Linked DNA regions of Homo sapiens: region 1 is linked to region 2. The links are contacts of gene promoters, found by promoter capture Hi-C in human tissues and cell types (Jung and others, 2019). All regions are on one chromosome and are shown on one strand. Each heading gives the region's core, a stretch centred on a gene start or on the middle of the fragment in contact. The rest is flanking DNA. Distances are from core to core; before and after follow the strand shown.

Region 1 (5,050 bases), core at 1,918-4,417, 45 kb after region 2:
TAGGAGGTCAACACCAACCTGTGCCTGTAGTCTTATCTACTCGGGAGGCTGAGACAGGAGGACTGCTTGAGCCCAGGCTTTTGAAGCTACAGTGAGCTATAATCGTGCCACTTCACTCCAGCCTGGGAGACAGAGTGAGATCCTGTTTCTTAAAACAGAAAAAAATTTACTGATAGACATTGTTCTAAGTGTATTATTGTATTAAATGGATCATTTAATTTAATCTTCATAACTGACATAGGAGTTGAGTAACTTGTGTGGTCAAATAGCTAGTAAGTGATGAGTAGGCTGGGCGCAGTGGTTCAAGCCTGTAATCCCAGCACTCTGGGAGGCTGAGGCAGGCAGATCACTTGAGGTCAGGAGTTTGAGACCAGCCTGGCCAACATGGCAAAACCTCGTCTCTACTAAAAATACAAAAATTAGCTGGGCGTGGTGGTGCGCACTTGTAGTCCCAGCTACTCGGAAGGCTGAGGCAGGAGAATCGCTTGATCCCGGGAGGGAGAGGTTGTAGTGAGCTGAGATCACGCCACTGCACTCCAGCCTGGGCAACAAAGCGAGACTCTATCTCAAAAAAAATAAAAATAAAAAGTGATGAGTAGAATTTGAACCCAGACATTCTGTCTCCAGACCTGGCATTCTTACTCACAGCTAAGCAAGAATAGATGGTTACTTTGCAAACCATCAAGTACTATACAACATAAGGTAATTATGAAAGTCAGAGAGAGTATATGACTTCTATAGTTCCACAACTGATTACTCAAATACAAGAACAGAACCAGTTCAATCCTATTTCCACAGACTTCTTCGTCAATCAAATGAGGATGATGTTTCCTATTACAGGCCACCAAACATTTTAGTAAGTATGTAAATAATGACAAAAGTGTATGGCCAGGCCGGGCACGGTGGCTCATGCCTGTAATCCCAACACTTTGGGAGGCCGAGGCAGGTGAATCATGAGGTCAGGAGATCGAGATCATCCTGGCTAACATGGTGAAACCCCGTCTCTACTACAAATACAAAAAAATAGCCGGGCGTGGTGGCAGATGCCTGTAGTCCCAGCTACTTGGGAGGCTGAGGCAGGAGAACGGCATGAACCTGGGAGGCGAAGCTTGCAGTGAGCCAAGATCACGCCACTGCACTCCAGTCTGGGCGACAGAGCCAGACTCCGTCTTGAAAAAAAAAAAAAAAAAAAGTGTATGGCCAGGCATGGTGGCTCATGCCTGTAATCCCAACACTTTGGCAGGCCAAGGTGGGAGGATCGCTTGAGGCCAGGAGTTCCGGACAAGCCTGGGAAACACAGTGAGATCTCATCTCTGAAAAAAAATTTTTTTTTAAAAAATTAGGCATGGTAGTGCATGCCTGTAGTTCTATCTACTTTGAAGGCTGAGGTGGGAGGATTGTTTGAGCCCAGGACAAGGGTTTGAGGCTGCAGTAAGCCACGTTCATGCCACTGTACTCTAGCGTGGATGACAGAGAGAGATCCTGTCTTTGGAAGAAAAAAACAAAAAGAAAAAAAAAAGAGTATGGCCATGGCCTTATAATATAGAAGGGGTCACATATTAATCTCTGAAAATGGATCTCTTTTTGGCTTTCATACAAGGCAACAGCCACAGAGTACGTACCTGAAAGCTGCCTGGGTTAATGGCTGGAGTATGTTCTAACTGTTCAGGACCCATGTCACACTGGTGGTTACAGAATGTGAATCTCACACTGTCCAAATCGGTTTTATTTTTAAAAGAATAATTCTATACATTACCTTATAAAAAGTAGGTAACCTAATTTTGATTTTAAAAGTGAATTGAGGCCAGATGCAGTGGCTCACACCTATAATCCCAATACCTTGAGAGGCCAAGGTAGGAGGATTGCTTGAGCCCAAGAGTTCAAGACCAGCCTAGGCAATATAGCAAGACGTTCTCTCTACAAAAAATAAACAAGTTAGTCAGGCATGGTGGTGCACACCTGTAGTTCTAGCTACTTGAGAGGCTGAAGTGGGAGGATCGCATGAGCCAGGGAGTTCAAGGTTGCAGTGAGCTATGACTGTGCCACTGCACCCCAGCCTGGGTGACACAGCAAGACTTTGTCTCAAAAAAAAGAAAAAAGCTTCTGCAGTAAGATATAAAGGAAAAAAATCGTTTAAAAAATGAATTGAGCATTTTGTGTGTCTACCACTCTGCTTGTGCTTTTTTTTTTTTGCTTTTTTTTTTTTTTTGAGACAGAGTCTCGCTCTGTCACCCAGGCTAGAGTGCAGTGGCACCATCTCGGCTCACTGCAACCTCCACTTCACTTCCTGGGTTCAAATAATTCTCCTGCCTCAGCCTCTCAAGTAGCTGGGAATACAAGGGTACGCCACCACACCCAGCTAATTTTTGTATTTTTAGTAGAGACGGGGTTTCACCATATTGGCCAGCTTGTCAAAACCTCAAAAAGCTTGAAAAACCAAATTTTTTTTGAGACAAGGTCTTGTTCTATCACCCAGGCTGGAATACAGTGATGCAATCATGGCTCACTGCAGCCTTGACCTCCTGGGCTCAATCGATCCTCCCACCTCAGCCTCCTAAGTAGCTGGAACTACAGGTGTGCACCACCATGCCCGGCTAATTTTTGTATTTTCTGTAGATACGAGGTTTTGCCATGTTGCCCAGGCTGGTCTTGAACTCTGGGCTTAGGTGATCTGCCCGCCTCAGCCTCCCAAAGTGCTAAGATTACAGGCATGAGCTACCATGCCCAGCCGAAATCTTCAAATGAAAAAGTTACTATAGCTAATTAATGATTTACTGAAGAGTTATGGGATGTACACGTTACCATTTTCTCTAAATCAAGATAAAGAGATGAGGAAAGAAAACACTCCAGTGGGGCATTCCTGTGACAAACAAATTATCAGTCTTGGGTTTTACCATATACTGAAATCACAGCCAAGATGAGCCACGCAGTCCATTCAGGGAGGTACTTGATAAACACCAGGGCCATGAGGGCACTAATCATAATGAGATATGCCTGCTGGAGTCGAAGTGGACCTTTCCAGTGAATGGAAATCATTCCCACCACACCAAAATTCCAGATCAGGAGTGCAACAGTAATGTAGTCCACAGCAACGTTATAGGTTTTAAACACTTCCCTGAAAAAAAATTACACAGATTTTAAAAGATGTACAATAATTTTCACCAAAACATTATTTAGAATAATGTGATGGCTCCCAAACATTAGATATTAATATCCCACCTTTATAATTTTACCATAACCTATATCAACTGTGCTATTATTTATTTAATACTTCCCTTTAAATTAATTTACTCTTTTTTTGTTTTTGTTTTTGTTTTTGAGCCAGGGTCTCATTTTGTTGCCCAGGCTGGAGTAAAGTGGTGCAATCACGGCTCACTGCAGTCTTTACCTCCGGAGATCAGGTGGTCTTCCCAGCTCAGCCTCCTAAGTAGCTGGGACAACAGGTGTGTGCCACTATGCCCAGCTAATTTTTCTAATTTTTTTTGTACAGATAGGGTTTCAACATGTTGCCCAGGTTGGTCTAAAACTCCTGGGTTCAAGCAATCCACCCGTCTCAGCCTCCCAAAGTGCTGGGATTACAAGCATGAGCCACGGTGCCTGGCCAATTAATTCACTTTTTTCCCTCAAGTTGAACAATTCACTTTTTTTTTCCCAAGCTGAACTTTTTCTTAATAGGAAGCTCTGTATCATTCATATAAATGGGAAACCAGTTGCACAGGCCATAACTATAAAAATGAGTACGAAGAGGAAAAAAGATCATATCATACCTAAAATGCCATACTATACTTTGGGAAATATTAGTTTAAAACATCTGAAATTAGAAAAAATTAAACATGTGCTAACAAATTTTATAGCTAGGACATAAATTTTCATACAATGAGATTTAGCAGTCATTAAAAATAGATATATGCAGGCTAGGCACAGTGGCTCACACTCTAATCCCAGCAATTTGGGAGGCTGAGGTGAGAGGATCACTTGAGGCCAGGAATTCCAGACGAGCCTGGGCAACACAGTGAGACTCTATCACTACAAAAAAATTTTAAAATTAGCTAAAGTTGATGGCACATGCCTGCAGTCCCAGCTACTCAGGAGGCTGGGGCAGGAAGATAGCTTGAGCCTGGGAGTTAGAGGCTGTGTGAGCTATGATCACACTACTGCACTCCAGCCTGGGCAACACAGCAAGACCCTAAAACTAAAAAAGAAAAGAAAAAAAAAATATATGTACGTATTTTGGAATTTCAAAGTGGGAGATAAATCATTTTTCCAGACAGTATCTGAAACCCAAAGTTTATGCTTAAATAAAGGTGTGCTTTCTTTCACCTTCAAAGCGGGAGAAGAATCATCATACACACACACACACTTATACATACACATATATACAAATACATTTTTTAATACACACATATAAACATGGAGTATAGGCATAACACACTGTTGCTTGAAAAAATATAGGATCCCATTTATGATCCCATTTATGCAAAGTAGTGTGAGAGAAGAGTAGATGAGAAATTGATATATTAATTCCTGAAAGGATGACAGGACTTATCTTTAGGTGGTGGGAATCTGGTCATTTTTCTTCTTTATAATCTTATATAATGTCTTTTTTAAAAAAACAATGAATGTTAAGTATTTTTATAATGAAGAAAATGCTATTTTAATTCTGGGGAGGCAAAATCCACCATCTAACAACAAAGAGATTGCAACTGTAGAAGATGCCTGAGGTAACTGAGGAGAAAGCAAGCACGCCTTTAGGCATAAACTTTCAGTTTCAGGTACCATCCAAAAAGATGATTCCTCTCCCACTTTGAAATTCCAAAATAGAGTAAACATTGAAATTTCTGGACGATGTAGATATTTATATTAAGCATTTCCAGTATCCTCAAACTAAAAAACAAAAACAAAAACAATCTATTTATTAATCTTTGGCCAGGTAACACATGAATAAGATATAAAATTCACAACAGATACTGTGAAAAGTAGGTTTTCTCCCCACTGTGCCCCATGGTTCCCCTCTTTAGAGGAAAGCACTACTTTTTCTTGAGATGGGGTC
Region 2 (5,262 bases), core at 889-3,388:
GTGCGCCTCGGTGCACCGCAGAGAACACAGCGTGAGGGCGCCCCGCCGGGCGGCTCAACATGTGAGCAAGAAAGGAATGGCCCATCCGCAACTGGCAGAAGTTCAAGAACAACTTGTTTCAGAGTTCCAGAGGGGAAAAAAAGAGAGAGCAATTAAAAATACTTCTATGTGGTTGAAAAACAAGTTCAGAATCCGAGTAATTAGACTCACTTTTAATTCAGCAAGATTCCTTTTAAAAAAGCTATTACATCAGATGTTTAAAAACTCCTAATATAGGCTTTAAAAAAATCAAGTCTCTGAAGACACTTTGAAAACCCAAATGCTCTAAAAGTGTTAATTGTAGCCCATTTAAAACCCAAGCCAGCATTTCTCTGCACAGGGAAGCTCCATAAGCAGCCTCCATAACCAACGTGTGTATGCAGTGCAGTGTGCGCCGTGCAGTGTGCGTGGTGCAGCGTGTGAGCCCTGAAAGTGCAGTGCAGTGTGCAGTACAGTGTAGTGTGCTCAGGGCAGTGTGCAGTGCAGTGTGTGTGGAGTGTCTGTGGTTTGATGTGTGCATGCATGCAAAGTGCATGTGCAGTGTGCGGGGCGGGTCCATGTGCAGTCTGGTGTGTACTATTTGGTGCAGGTGTCCAGTCGGTATACACGCTGTGCAGTGTGTATGTGTACATACATGTCGCTGTATCGCAGAATGACATAAACAATGTGCGCCCTTCAGTACAAAACATTAAACAAGTACTAGCGTGCAGGTTTGAACTTTAAAATCTGTAATTCTACCAATGTTCTAATTTTTTAAAGATATAAAATGACTTCTGCTTACAAGGATAAAAGACAGCATACAGAAGCCAAGCTCAGCAGAAATGTAACCTGGCATACTGAACAATGTACACACTCGTTAATTTGGCACAGTGAGTCATTGAGTCATTATTTTCGTGGTCAAGTTCGAGATTCCTGGGGTTGGAGGGTGAGGGAAGGGGGTTGCTGCCAGAGCCCTGCCTCTGCTCTGCTGGGGGCAGCTCCCAGAGCAGGAGCCCCCTGCTAGGGCCAGGCTAGGCCTGCTAGGGCGGGCGAGGCTGAGGAAAAGACGGGTGAAAGAAGAATTTTACTTGTAATTACTCAGAACACCACCGCCTCCGCTGCAATTTCACTGAACTCCAAGCCCATATCTGCCATTCCGAAGTCTGAAAAGTTCAGTTTTTTCGGTTCATTTGGTGGCAAACAACCCCTTCAACTCCAAGGCCAGTCCGGGTCTGGTCACGGGGCTACTCCGAGGGCCGTGGAAGCTCGACCTCTCCTGCCGCCCGAGGGCAGGGACCGGGTGGCCCCGGGCACGCAGGGTGGGCGCCCTCAACGTGTTGTTCCCGGGGAACGCGTCTGCCTTGAGCTAGGGCCGAAGGCGGCGACCCTAGGCGCCAGAGGGCGGGAAGGCGGGTGGCCGCCGACCAAGCCTCCCCCTACAGGGTCCCCAGCCGACTCCGGGACCGCCGCAGTCCGCAGACGCCCGTCCCCGTGGCCCCCGCCCACGGCCCCCCTCTGCATCGGTCCAGCCCTGACCAGGCACCCCGCGTCCCCACCCCAGGAACGCGCCGCGCACCCCCGAGGCGGAGAGGCGCGGTTCCCACGGGAGGCCCGGGGTGGCCGCGCAGGTGCCGGCAGCCGCTGGGGCTCCCGGACGCTCCAGGCCCGCGGCCCAGTGGCACCTCCCGGGAGGGGCGCACGGTCTCCAGGGCCTCGCTTGTACCACGCGCCGGGAGCGGCATTCGCCTGAAGGGAAGGTCCGAGCGGGCGGAGGGTGCGCGCCGGGGCCGTCCCGCACCAGCTCCCCGGCTCTCTGCATTTCCTTTCCTCCAGGCCGGGGGGCGCGCGGTGCCGAGCGATGACCCTGCGCCCACCTCCGGAGAGCGAGCCGGGGCGGGGTCTTCTCTGCGGCCCCCACTTTCTCCGACACCCCCGTCGCCGTGAGCCAGGCGAGCAAATTCCTGCAGAAGCCCCGGGGTGCGGGGTCCCCGCCGCTGGGCGCCCGGGGGCTTCCAGTCCCTCCGCCTCCCTACCTGTCTTCGCTGGCGCCGGGAGGCTGCAGCCAGGGCCGCTCCGTCGGTGCCCGCCCAGGCCCAAGCCCGCGAGGTCGGCCGGGCCGCAAGGAACGCCCGCAGGGGTGGGACTTTCTCTCTCCGCCGCTGCCTGGCCTCACCCTCCACCCCGCCCTGTCTCACTTACCCACCTCCAATCCCCGTGGGAGGACAGAGCCCTTCGTAGAGGCCCTCGTGGTGACCGGTGTTGCCCGGGGCCTCCACCCGCTTGGGTCTGTGCCAAGGCTTGGCTCATCCTCCACTCTGGTCACCCCGTCTGTCCTCTCTTGGGTCAGCGCCAGTCACCTCTCCAATCCCATTTCCCCTTGCCCAAGCCTTCTAGCTTTGCCCTATCCGCTCCTCTTCATGCCTATCCTACACACAACACACCTGTGTCCAGCCACCACCTTCTCCACCCCTGGATCCTATTCTTCAGCCGCAACTGAGTTTCTCCGCACACGCTGCTGTTACCCATCTCCCAGCACGTTTTCTCACTCAGAATGCGCTCTCCCAATCCCCTCTACCTCTCAAACCCGTAGTCAGCCCTCAAAACCTTGGTCAAATGTCACTTTCCTTCCTTTCTTCTTTCTTTCCCTCCCTCCCTTCCTCTTTTCTTTCTTTCTACTTTCCTCCCTCACTTTCTTCTTTCTTTCCCTCCCTCCCTTCCTCTTTTCTTTCTTTCTACTTTCCTCCCTCCCTTTCTTCCTCTTTCTTTTCTTTCTTTCTACTTTCCTCCCTCCTTTTCTTTTTTTTTTTTTTAGACGGAGTTTCACTCTTGTTGCCCAGGGTAGAGAGCAATGGCTAGATCTTGGCTCACTGCAACCTCCGCCTCCTGGGTTCAAGCGATTCTCCAGCCTCAGCCTCCCTAGTAGCTGGGATTACAGGCGTCTGTATGATGCCTGGCTAATTTTTGTATTTTTAGTAGAGACAGGTTTTCACCTTGTTGGCCAGACTGGTCTCCAACTCCTGACTTCAGGTGATCCACCCACCTCGGACTCCCAAAGTGCTGGGATTACAGACGTGAGCCACTGCGCCCAGCCTTCTTCTTCTTTTTTTAAATAGAAACAAGGTCTCGCCCAACCTGGTCTCGAACTCCTGAGCTCAAGCAATCTTCCCACCGTGGCCTGCCAAAGTGCCACCGTGCCCAGCATGTCACCTGCTTTTGAAGCCGTCTCCACACCACCCCAGGCCGATGGGGTGCATGTCCTGCTCCCTCGGTTTCTGTCCCTGTTGCTGTGATTTGCTCAGCTGTGAGTCCCGGGGGGCAGGGCCTGCAATGCAGCCCCACCACCTGTGCCAGGGCACTAATTAGCATCAAGGCAGGGGCTCAACGCATGTGATCAACTTCATTTGTTTTCCTGGTTGTCCTTTTTCACAACCAAGACACTCTTTGCCTACCATTCTTTTTTTGAAACTGGAATTCACTCATCTTTAGAAACTGGTCCTGGACACGAGGGAGGTTGGGGGGAAGAAGTTGGGGAGAGGTTGGGGGTGGGGTGGTGGCAAAGGCTGGTCCCCTTCCCCCACGCTGTTCTGCCTTTAGCCCCTTGCTGGCCCTGCCACTTCTCCCTTGGCCTCATTTGGGCAAAGAGAAGTCACCAGCGGGAAGCTCAGCCCCACTTCAGCCCCCTGGCTCCAGCAGCTGCCTGTTTGGACAAAATGCTTATTAGAACATGGCCAGTTTAAATCAGTTTAAATCAGGTGCATTTCTTACCTATCAATGAAGACAGGAGGAGCAGCAGCTGTAGCGGGGCCCCTGGGGAGTTGTGTGAATTCTTAAGCAAAGATAAAGCTTGGCAGAGAAAGGGGAGTGGAATCATGCAGCCTCTCTAAAGAGGAAAAGCGCTTCTTCCATTCAACAAGCCCCACTCCCTGCCCCCACCAGCTGGGACTTTTCTGAGCTTGGTCAAAGGTCCTCTGTTAAGTGGGAGGAAAATGCTTCTCCCGCTGCAGGGTGGGGGAAGCTGAGGCCCAAGGAGCTCACTTTCCTGCTGTGTCCCTGCTTTTCCTATGATCCTTTCTTCTCAGACACCCAGGGCTGTGATTTCTTATGCCTCACGCCAGCTGCAAAGAGGACTCTGAGGTTGGGAGGCAGAACCCACACTCAGTGGTAAGGGACTGTCTTAGACCCACCAGCCAGGCCCTAGCAATTACTGGCTTGGGCAGGAATATTCTCTTTAAGCCTCATTTCTCCTCTGCTTACCTCACAGAGATGTGAACAGAACTGATGCATTAAAATAGGGTGGTTTAGAAAGAAGATTCCAGGAAAAAGTGTAAGACCTTCCTTCCTATTGTCAAGTCCCCTCTGTGCTGGCTCTATGCCACTCAGTGTCTGCACCTGAGACGCCCTCGCATTGGGGGTTTGGGGTAGCCTGGGGCGGAGGCAGACCTGGACTGGAAGGCTGCTCTGCTTCTCACTGTGTGTGTACTTGGGCAGGTCGGGTCACCTCCTTAAGCCACAACTTGCTCACTTGAGACTCATACAGCAGGTGGTAGAGTAGGGAAGTAACTGGTTTCCATAAAATTCCTACTAGATGCAGAATAAAAGTTAGTTCTGATCTGGGCGCAGTGGCTCATGCCTGGAGTCCCAATACTTTGAGAGGCTGAGGAGGGAGGATTGCTTAAGTCTAGGAGTTCAAAACTAGCCAGGGCAACACAGTGAGACCCTCCATCTCTACAATTTTTTTTTTAATTAGCCAGGTATGGTGGCAGTTGCCTGCAGTCCAAGATAGGGGTCCTCAATCCCCAGGCCACGGACCGGTACCTGTCCATGGCCTGTTAGGAACGGGCACACAGCAGGAGGTGAGCAAGCATTACTGCCTGAGCCCCGCCACCTGTCAGGTCAGTGGCAGCATTAGATTCCCACGGGAGCATGAACCCTGTTGTGAACTACTCATGCAAGGGACCTAGGGTGTGCATTCCTTAGGAGACTCTGATGCCTGATGATCTGAACAGGATCAGGCTTTAGACTGGAACAGTTTCTTCCCGAAACCATCCCACCCCGCTCCCAGACCTGAAAAAATTCTCTTCCATAAAACTGGTCCCTGGTGCCAAAAAGGTCGGGTACCACTGGCCAAGCTACTTGGAAGGCTGAGGCAGGAGGATCAATTGAGCCTGGGATGTCGAGGCTGCAGCGAGCTATGATTGCACCACTGCACTCCAGCCCGGGCAGCAGAGCAAGACCCTGTCTCTA

Evidence for each region. The method cuts DNA at HindIII sites, captures the fragments that hold promoters and counts their contacts. A contact is called where the count stands out against the background at its distance.
Region 1: a fragment that was not itself captured here is called in contact with the fragment with the promoter of PAPLN in region 2 in 1 of the 25 tissues and cell types used here (mesenchymal stem cells).

Annotation. Positions count from the first base shown.
Region 1 is chr14:73,190,709-73,195,758 of GRCh38, reverse strand. PSEN1 (presenilin 1) reads right to left here. Exons shown (of 12, transcript NM_000021.4): 7 at 2,895-3,115. Among named protein-coding and RNA genes, the nearest start is that of PAPLN, 44 kb to the left of the region's middle. The HindIII fragment of the contact is 3,125 bases long and covers 1,605-4,729 here.
Region 2 is chr14:73,234,382-73,239,643 of GRCh38, reverse strand. It overlaps PAPLN (papilin, proteoglycan like sulfated glycoprotein), which reads right to left and starts at 2,138. Exons shown (of 27, transcript NM_001365906.3): 1 at 2,052-2,138. RefSeq lists enhancers at 1,577-2,147, 2,721-3,292, 3,293-3,865 and a silencer at 3,209-3,503. The HindIII fragment of the contact is 14,518 bases long and covers 1-5,129 here.